Linked DNA regions of Homo sapiens: all the other regions are linked to region 2. Evidence: promoter capture Hi-C in human tissues and cell types (Jung and others, 2019). All regions are on one chromosome and are shown on one strand. Each heading gives the region's core, a stretch centred on a gene start or on the middle of the fragment in contact. The rest is flanking DNA. Distances are from core to core; before and after follow the strand shown. Region 1 overlaps ELMO2 (engulfment and cell motility 2). Region 2 holds the start of DBNDD2 (dysbindin domain containing 2). Region 3 overlaps SLC35H1 (solute carrier family 35 member H1).

Region 1 (3,029 bases), core at 416-2,915, 990 kb before region 2:
GAAGCATCCCATTCTGACTAGGAAATGGTCATGAAAGCATCCCTCTTTCTGAGGCCGATGGGCTTGTGGGGGACAGGACTTTTACTCCTTTTCATCTAAGAGGTTTATACTTACCAGGCTGTGAGAACTGACATCTGTGTTTGGGCTGAAAAATTGATAGCATACATGCATAATAGCCTCGCGACAGCTATGCTTTGTACGCCAGGAGAGGCAGGTGGTCCCCATTAGCGAGGCATGAATTGTGGGTGAATGGCTAAACCTGGAGGATGCAGAAAGGTCTTTTTCATTAAGAGAGGGGCCTCTCCTGAACTTGTAGGCAAGGAGTGTAAATATACATTGAAATAATCCATCAGCCAAGTGACTTCCCTTCGTCAGACCTTGGAGAGAGAATGCTTTAGTTACTGCTTGGAATACCAGTAAGCTATCAGAGTTGCCTAGGATACCAGTCACATGGGCCCATCTTCCAGACTTGCTCAGGATGATTTATTTTCCTTTATTTTGGAGAGAAGTGGGGGAGGGGGTCAGAGGTACTTGCAAAGCCTTGTCCTTATAAGAGGGGCCCTTGTGTGAGGATATCCTTACCTCTCTCCACTTGAGTTGTCAGCCGCCCTTGCCCTTGGCAGTAGGGACGAAAATAGCATTTCCTGTCCCAGTTATCTTCCCCATTTTCTGATGTCGTCCCACACAGAGGAGGCTTTGCATTGTGTCCTTTGAGGGGAAAGGGGTGGCATCGATGAGTGGGGAGGAAGCAAGAGAGCATGTAGCTGGGCCCTGCTGATGCTGGGATCTTCCTAGGATGACTGCAGAAAGAAGTAGCCTGGCTCCTCCAGCTAACCACTCAACCAAGAAAAGGCTGTCTATTCTTATCTGTCTCGGAGCATATGCTTCTCTCCTCCCAAGGTCTCAAGACAGGAATTTGCAGTAAATACATTCCTCTACCACTGAGTCTTCTTGACTCTTAAACTGAAGTGCCACATTGGCATATCTTGCTACTGGCTGATCTATGGATGATAGATAGTTTGTCCCATTTCTTCTTGCTGATTTAATCTCAAGAGACAAAATCCTAAGCAGAAGTTGTGGTATGATCTAGAAAAATTCAAACCAGGTAGTTTCATGTGTTACTTTATGCAGTGTCTGTCTTCAAACTCTTCAAAACATGTAACAAGAGTGAAAAATGAAGAAATACTCTTTTTCCACCTTTCTGATTCTTTCTCCCCAGGCAGCCGTGTCTGTGTTTTTGTCTCGCAGAATTAGAGCCCATTGGGAACGATGCCACCACCGTCAGACATTGTCAAAGTGGCCATTGAGTGGCCAGGTGCTAACGCCCAGCTCCTTGAAATCGACCAGGTATGCTCCTGAAGTGAGAAGCAGTGGTTCAAGGAAAGGCACCTGGGGAGTGCATGGCAGAGGACATCTTGAGGGATGGGGACCACCGGCATCAAGAGTAAGAACGAGCAACAGGAAGGCTAAGCTTTGGGCCTGGCCCACCCTAGGGAAGGTCGGTCACCATGGCTTGGGAGAGGCTTCCTCTTCAACAAAAGCTGTTAGGAAAGAAGTTCATTCTCATGCCCCAGCTTGACCCTGCTTGGCAGGCCTCTTGTCAGAACCTTGGCATGAGTAGGATGTTGCTGCTGTTGAAGGCTTTCTCTCTCTCTCTTTCAGAAACGGCCCCTGGCATCCATTATCAAGGAAGTTTGTGATGGGTAGGTTGAAATGGACCTCGTTTTCAACAGTGGCAGCTCCGACTGAAAGAGCACTCCTACACCTTGAGGGGAGTTCTGGGAAGGATCTCCAGTTAGGCAGGTCCTCAGCATGGGGGTCTTGGGAATCATTGTCTTGGGAAGGAAGTACAGTTGACAACCATACCCCTAAGACGTTTATACTTCTTAATTTTTTCCTTAAAGTCTAGCATTGCCCTATTGAGGTAGGATCTGAGACCCCTCCTCAGTTCTGCACACCTCCTATTGTGGTGCTCATCTTTACAAAAGGCTGAGGCCATGATTTTTTCAACATGACAACCTAAAGCTTTGTTTCCACTGTATTCCAAATAGGCCACCCAATCCCTTGAGCAACTCTTTTGAAAATTACTTATGAGCAGCTTCTGAACAAGAGAGTGGCCAAGTGGGATATACTGTTTTTCTCTTGCATAGGTGGTCGTTGCCAAACCCAGAGTATTATACCCTCCGTTATGCAGATGGTCCTCAGCTGTACATCACCGAACAGGTTAGTACAGGGAGAGGCAAAATCAATATGGGCCTTGCTTGGAATTAAACGACCCAAGGAGACGGCACTATTTATCTTCACTCAGCATCCAGGTAGCTTCCATGTGTTGGGTAAAGAGTCACTCTCCGGACAGACTGGGAAACACCAGCCCTTGTTCTTCCCTAGTGGCTAGAAAAAGGTGGCTTTTACTTCCTGAGTGCCCAGGGTGCTAGAGGAGGATCTTAGAAATTCTTTGCCAAGGAATAAGCAGGAGAAGAGGGCCCGACTGAAGATCCTCAGTTACATCTACTGTAAAAAAGACAAAACATTATTGTTGATTCAACTTGCTTGTACCACTTTAACATTTTATCTTAGTTACTTTTTTTGTTTATTTTTCACTACCCAGACTCGCAGTGACATTAAGAATGGGACAATCTTACAACTGGCTATCTCCCCGGTAGGTATTCTTTCTTCCTTAGGAGTTTATTCATGTCACAAACAAATATGAGCACCTACCATGGGCCAGACTCTGTTCTAGAAATAAGTACTCTGGAGATAAGAAAGTCAGTCTTTTTGTATCAGGAAATAGTACAGGAAAATAAGTCTGTCTTGGTTCTCACCACCTAGTGGGGAGTAAACAAATGCAATAGAAGGCCTGTCTCAAGGGTCTTGAGAGAAAGTTGCTTAGGGAGCTGTGGGAACTCACAAAGGGGACCACCTAACTCAGCCTGGAGATTTCCAGAAAGTCTTGCCAGAGAAGGCGTCACTTAGCTCAGATGTTAAAGGATGAGCAAGAATTAGCTAGAGAAATAAGAAAAGGAAAAGTA
Region 2 (3,248 bases), core at 625-3,124:
GTCTGTAGGCAGGGGCCCACTGCTAGCTGCAGGCTCCAGGCTCTGCCCCTCCATCACCCCTTTCCTCCTCTTCATCCGACTGTGCCAAGGGCGTATCTGCTCCATCATCACTTGGATTTGGGCTATGCAGGTTGGTGGAGGAGTCGGAGGAGGAGGAGGAGGAGGTCCTAGATGTGGTCCTGTCTGATGTAGGCACCGGCAGGCTCAGCTCCTCCAAATGGTTGTCCATCCCTGCCCAGAGAGAAAAGCTGGTCAGGCCACAAACAGGGCTTCAGAGAACTCTTAAAGATTATCTGGCCAGGAGTAACTAAAGTCCACAGTGGGGCAGAGACTTGTCCAAAGTGACTTTGCCAATCCAGCAAAGAGCCAGGATTAAGATCACCATCTCCTGACTGCCAGCTCCTTCCACGTCATTACACCATGTCTGGGATCTACAGTCAGGTCAATGAATGGCAAGAGTTCAAGTTCCACCTACATCACTTATTGCTGCTGAGTGGCTTTGAGCAAGTCACTTTCCCTTTCAAGGACTCTGTTCCTCCTCTGCAAAATAAAAGGGATACCTACATCCCCAAAGGGTTTTGGGAATAAAACCTAAGAATGCTTATAAAATGTCTGGCATAGTAAGCCATCAATAAATAGTAGCAGTTTTAATTAAAAGAATATCTATCTTACAAGTTAAGCATATGGGCTTTGGAGTCAGACAGACATGAATTCCAGTTTATCTACCTTCTGGCTACAATGTGACTTAACTTCTCTGAGCCTAATTTCCTGCTTATAAAATAGAGATTATATCACCTACCCTGACAGGACGTTGTAAGGATTGAGATAATATATGTAAAGTACTTTAGTACAGTATTGGAACCTACTAAAGTACTCAATACATATTAATATCATTATAATGACTAAAACTACTTAAGTTGCCAAATATAAAAATTACAATTTTACATTATTTTAATTATAGTGACTAATTATATTAATATAACAAATGTAAAATTAAAGAAGAGATTGACCGTTCCCAGAATTTTGGATTAGAGATGTGTAACCCAGTTCTCCCTCAGGGTCAACTTCCCTAAAATCAGAACAGGCAGCTGTTTCATTGGTAGAAACACCCACTTCCAGCCCTTACTTGTGTACTTCCCCAGCCCAGCCTTGTAGCCTCGTTTCAGAGCCTGACATCCGGCTCTGGCTGACTGGCACTGAAGTCCCCAAAGCAGAGGGGCATACCAGACGACTGGGGGGTTGGTGGAGGATCTTCGCAAGGCAAGAACACATCTGCTGCATCCGGGTCCCCAAGGTCAATAAGTTCTACTTGCTCCAGTGTGTCCACATTCACTTCCATGGATGAGATACTACCTATGGGGGCTGCGGATCAAGAAGTGGGCAAGTCAGGAGGACCCAAGCTGCACACCAGGACAGTGAGAGTTACATGTCAGGTCCCAAGTTAGAAGCATAGAGGGCCAAGAAAACCAGAGGGGAGAGAGTGCCACAAGATTCAGGACCCACAGGACATCCTCCCTACCCTACCCCAGTCCCTCTTCTCAGGACTTGGGACTTACGTCTCTGCGACTCGAGATGCAGATGGGACAGAGGAAAGACAAACTCTGTCTCTGGCTGTAAAATGTCCTCGAAGAATTTTTGCCGCTCCCGAAGGCGGAGCTGCTGGCGCTCCAGGGCGGCCCGAGGATTTGGGTCCATGTCAGCTCCTGCGGGTAGAGGAGCAAAACAAGTACAGCTGCAAAGTCGAAAGAGAAGACAGAGGGGACCTGGGCTTGGGGCGCCCCACTGCAGCCAGCATCCCAACAGTGGGGCCCCTGGCTCCGGCCTGGACACCTCTGCCCTTGGTGACCTCTTTCCCCTTCCCTGAAACCAAGTGTGTCCCACAAACCAAGTCTCATGCAGAGGCGGGGCTTGCCCTAAGCTCCACAAAGGGGATGCCAGTTCCAGGCACCACAAGAGAGATACTCTGTATTCAGGGAACACAGCCAATGCCCAACTCTCCATATCATGCCCTCCTGAGAGGGGTTGGAGGGATTGGTTCAGCACAAATGGAGGAGGTACGTTTTCCCCTTAATTGGCCCCGCTTGCCTCAGAAGGCCAGGGACAGGATAGGATAGAGACAGAGATCTCAGGGTGGAGGGTTCCCTTCCTCCAGTGCTGCAGCCCACCCCTTCCCATCCTTCAAAACCCAGACAAAGGCTAAAGCAACTCCTCCCGCGCCCCTCCTTTTCTCTCCACCCACACAAACACGTACACACGCATGTGCCATCTACCCCAAACCCTTGCTCTGAAGTCACAGGCCTGACTTCCAGACTAGGCTCTGCCCCTAAGGAAATCACCTTTCTGGTCTTAGTCTCCCCATCTGAAAATGGCATAACCAACCTACCTGCCTCAAATACAAGACCCTGCTTGTGAAGGTGAGCTATTTAGGAGACTACCATCTTTCCTTTGAACTCCAACAGCTCTTTATGCGTCCCCCTCCTGGGACACATCTCACTGACTTATCTCCCCATTAGTCAGTGAGGAGCAATTGGAAAGGCGGGTTCTGGGTCCAGTTCAGAGCAGGCCTCCTGACCCCTAGGGCTGAGAAGCTGAGACCCTGCCAGAGCACTGAGGCTATGGGCCAGCCCAGGTCGGTGCATTCATTCCCATTCGCTCATCTCCTTCCCGGCGTTCTGCTCTGAGCCCATCACCAGAGGCAAGGGAGTTTCTAGCTTGAGGATCAGACGTCATCCTCCGCAGACTGCCTTCCCCACCTCATCTGCACCCAGCGTATCCCAGACCCTGGCCAGCTCCACGGGCGCCACAGAGGTGGAGAGGGACCCAACCCCGACTGGCCAAGGCAGGGCCACGGAAGTCTGGGGAGACCGTGCGGCCGCGGGCTGGCGGCGGAGGAGCGAGGCGCTGACGCCGATTCCCGGGAAAGGCTCTTAGAGCTGCCGCCCAGGTCACAACGCTAAAAATACCCAGGGCCCCTGGAGCCTGTGCTCCAGCAGCGAGGAGGGGGAGGGAGAGGCCAAGGTGGGGGAGCTGACGGGGGCCAGGGGCTCTGGGACACCCCCTCTCTTTTCCCCTCCCCCTAACCCCACCGATCTCACGAGACTGAAGGAGCTGTCCCCCGGGGGGCCGCGGAGCCCAGAGCTGGAGAAAGGGAGTTGTTTACGCGACCTATAGGTACTGGAAAGGGGGTGAAGAGATTTGGGGGCAGGAGGCTGCCAGGGGCCGGGCAGGAGCCAGCGAAATGGAGAACT
Region 3 (3,041 bases), core at 1-2,500, 950 kb before region 2:
AATGGGGAGGTGGGCCCTCGATGTGGCCTTTTTGTGGAAGGCGGTGTTGACCCTGGGGCTGGTGCTTCTCTACTACTGCTTCTCCATCGGCATCACCTTCTACAACAAGTGGCTGACAAAGGTACCAGGAGGCCTTGCTGGGGCGGGGTGCTGGGATGAAGGTGGCCAGAGCCATGGCTACGGTGCCCTTCATGTTTAACAGGAAGGCACAAGCTTCAACCAGTCTAACTGGAAGCCAGTCACGGCTGGGCTGGAACAGGGCCCTCCAAGCCTGCCGTGCCAGGGTTCCCCTTCAGTGTTTGGATCCAGGGAAACCAAGGAGAGCGGGGGGTGTGAAGGGATGAGCTGGGGAAACTGGGGCTCAAGCAGCAGCTATTTACCCCACTAGAGAAGTATTTCAATATTTTAATAAGTGATACAACGTAGTGGGCCGCAGTGGCTCTCACTTGGGCATAGGCCGTGAGGAAGGCTGGGCAGGTAGCTCACAGGTGTGTTGAAATGGTGGAGACAGCACCAGGCTAGGATTGAGTCTCTTGGCTGCCACCTGTCTTCGTGACCTAAGAGTCTGTCATTCCAAGCGATGATACCGTAACTAAGGGCCCTACACACATAGCAAGGTCCTCATGAACCACCGAATGAGCCCCACTCCAGCAGAGGGGCGAAGAGGAAGAGGGAGCCGGTGGGGGGCAGGCTGTCTAAACCAAGCCGGGGTGTCTGCTTTGGGCTCCATACAGAGCTTCCATTTCCCCCTCTTCATGACGATGCTGCACCTGGCCGTGATCTTCCTCTTCTCCGCCCTGTCCAGGGCGCTGGTTCAGTGCTCCAGCCACAGGGCCCGTGTGGTGCTGAGCTGGGCCGACTACCTCAGAAGAGTGGCTCCCACAGGTAGGTGGGGGACCTCAGTGAGGGCAGAGCAGGAAGAGGGGCTGGGGAACCATAGGATGAGAACAAGAGAGACACCCGCATGTCTGGAAGCCAAGTCCCTCCCCTCTTCCTGCACTGTTCCTCCTCTGCCCTCTTGACCTGGCCTCCCACCACCCACGCTGCTGCCTCTTGTGCACTGCGTGCCTTCCCACTGCCCCACCACACACCCACAAAACCCCCCCTGCACCTGCGGCCCCGCAGCTCCCTCTCCTGCCAGCAGACACCGAGCCTGGAGTGCAGCCCTCAGGCCTGGAGATAAGTGGTGAGCAGGCAGGGTCCCTGCCCTCGCAGGGCTGTGACACGGACATGGAGGGCACTACGGAGCCCAGGGAGGGGACCAACCCAAGGCCGGGGCCCATGGCTGGTAGAGGAAGATTTCCTAGGCCAGGTGCCAAGTAGGCAGAGCCCTGAAGGATGCGTGGGACTGGTTGGCCCTGGGAGGAGGGGCCCTCGTGGCCCGAGGGAGATTTAGTGCCAGCTGTGGGGTCTGGAAGGGAACTCAAAGTGTTTCAGGATACTGAGAACCCGGTGCTGGCCAGAGGAAGTGGGAAAAATGAGAACTGAGAGGGTGGGCAGGGGTCATGTCCTGGAGGCCGGATTCCCCGTGGAGGAGTTTGTGTTCCATCCTGAGGGAAAAGGGTTTCCAGTAAGGGATCAACCAGATCAGGTTAATACCTCCGCTCAGGGGGCTCGCCGGAGTGTTTGTGGAAACCATACCGGCCCAGCCAGTTGGAATGGGCCCCAGCCCTAATGCTAGAGCAGCCCCCGACCTTTGGGGGCCAGATATTAACCCTTTAGTTGCTGGTGGAAAAGAAGGCCCAAGGGCCCCACAGGAGGCACCGGGATGGTTCAGAAGTGGGGGACACTCAGGTGCCTCAGGGTACCAGCCCACCCCAGCAGAGTGTGGACCTCCCAAGCTGTCCTGTGGGTGCCTGTGTCTTCACAGCTCTGGCGACGGCGCTTGACGTGGGCTTGTCCAACTGGAGCTTCCTGTATGTCACCGTCTCGCTGTGAGTACTGGCCATGCCCTGCTGCCTCCCTTCAGGCTGAAGCTGTCTGTCTGTCCAGCGGGGTGTCTGCACACCCGGCTGCTAGGCCAGCCACTCCACCACTCTGGGACCAGCCCTTGCTCTCTCAGCCTCTCCCTGGCACCCAGCAGCTCTCCGGGAAGTCGCCAGCCTCTTCCGTAAGCCCAGCGCAGAGGAGATGCTGTGCCCACCTGCCAGGCAGCGTGGGGAAGCCAGGGAGCTCTCCCAGAACCCCATCATCAGAGCAGGGGAAGGCAGGCTGCAAGGCCACAGACAGGTGGCCACTGGTGGGTGGTACACGCAGCCGCAGCAGAGCCCTATGTGGCCTGGGGGCTACACAAGAGTTTCTTCTTCCCTCTGATGTTTTGCTTCAGAGAGCACTGTTCCTGCCTTCTTGTCCTCCTACTTCTCATCCTTCCTTCCCGCTCCTGGGCTCTGCCGAGGGTTAGGTAAAGAACAGGACTCAGGGAGCTCAACGTCAGACCTGTAACCTCTTCTCTCTGGTGATAACCAGAGGCCTCTTAGTCAGAGATTCCTTCTGATTAAAGGTCGCTTATCACTCAGATGACAGCCCAGCTCTGTTTGGTCATTTCGCTCAGTGATTTGTGCTCCTGCTCCTTTCTCGGTGATGGGTCTGAGCCCTGAGCTCCAGCAGTGCATTGTGGGTAATTTTGCTTCCAGGTACACAATGACCAAATCCTCAGCTGTCCTCTTCATCTTGATCTTCTCTCTGATCTTCAAGCTGGAGGAGCTGGTGAGGCCCCAGCGTCTCTTGTGTCCTTCCTGCCCCCACAGATGCTAAGAATAAAGTGGGAGTCTGAGCAGTGGCTTGTCCTGCTGTGTGACAGAGGAGACAAGCCCAGTCCAGGTGGCAGTAGATCCCTTTCTGAGAAGGGACCTAGACATGGGCAATACTCAGAATATTTAGAAACCAGTGTGGCAGGGTAATGACCAAAGGTGAAAGCACTGCAGGATGAGGGTCCCAGCAGAGCTGGGTCTAGGAAGCACCCTGCTGTGGGAGGCAGTAGCCCTGTGTGTTAGGCCCAGGGAGGAGGTGGGACCACTTGGGGGCCTAGGACAGCCGTCAGT

The links. The method cuts DNA at HindIII sites, captures the fragments that hold promoters and counts their contacts. A contact is called where the count stands out against the background at its distance.
Region 1: a fragment that was not itself captured here is called in contact with the fragment with the promoter of DBNDD2 in region 2 in 1 of the 25 tissues and cell types used here (spleen).
Region 3: a fragment that was not itself captured here is called in contact with the fragment with the promoter of DBNDD2 in region 2 in 1 of the 25 tissues and cell types used here (aorta).

What each region holds. Positions count from the first base shown.
Region 1 is chr20:46,392,723-46,395,751 of GRCh38, reverse strand. ELMO2 (engulfment and cell motility 2) reads left to right here. Exons shown (of 22, transcript NM_133171.5): 3 at 1,220-1,347; 4 at 1,663-1,703; 5 at 2,151-2,223; 6 at 2,609-2,659. The coding sequence starts at 1,270. LOC124904917 (a long non-coding RNA gene) reads right to left here. Exons shown (of 3, transcript XR_007067614.1): 3 at 1-2,511. Among named protein-coding and RNA genes, the nearest start is that of ELMO2, 12 kb to the left of the region's middle. RefSeq lists an enhancer at 1,019-1,518. The HindIII fragment of the contact is 3,871 bases long and covers 1-3,029 here.
Region 2 is chr20:45,406,915-45,410,162 of GRCh38, reverse strand. It overlaps DBNDD2 (dysbindin domain containing 2), which reads right to left and starts at 1,874. Exons shown (of 3, transcript NM_001048225.4): 1 at 1,557-1,874; 2 at 1,225-1,362; 3 at 1-231. The coding sequence starts at 1,695. The coding sequence ends at 23. It overlaps SYS1-DBNDD2 (SYS1-DBNDD2 readthrough (NMD candidate)), which reads right to left. Exons shown (of 6, transcript NR_003189.2): 4 at 1,557-1,703; 5 at 1,225-1,362; 6 at 1-231. LOC107985404 (a long non-coding RNA gene) reads left to right here and starts at 2,274. Exons shown (of 5, transcript XR_007067608.1): 1 at 2,274-2,414. RefSeq lists an enhancer at 2,737-3,248. The HindIII fragment of the contact is 23,713 bases long and covers 1-3,248 here.
Region 3 is chr20:46,355,467-46,358,507 of GRCh38, reverse strand. It overlaps SLC35H1 (solute carrier family 35 member H1), which reads left to right. Exons shown (of 10, transcript NM_015945.12): 2 at 1-121; 3 at 735-885; 4 at 1,871-1,934; 5 at 2,634-2,706. The coding sequence starts at 2. Among named protein-coding and RNA genes, the nearest start is that of SLC35H1, 7.4 kb to the left of the region's middle. RefSeq lists an enhancer at 1,459-1,958. The HindIII fragment of the contact is 7,023 bases long and covers 1-3,041 here.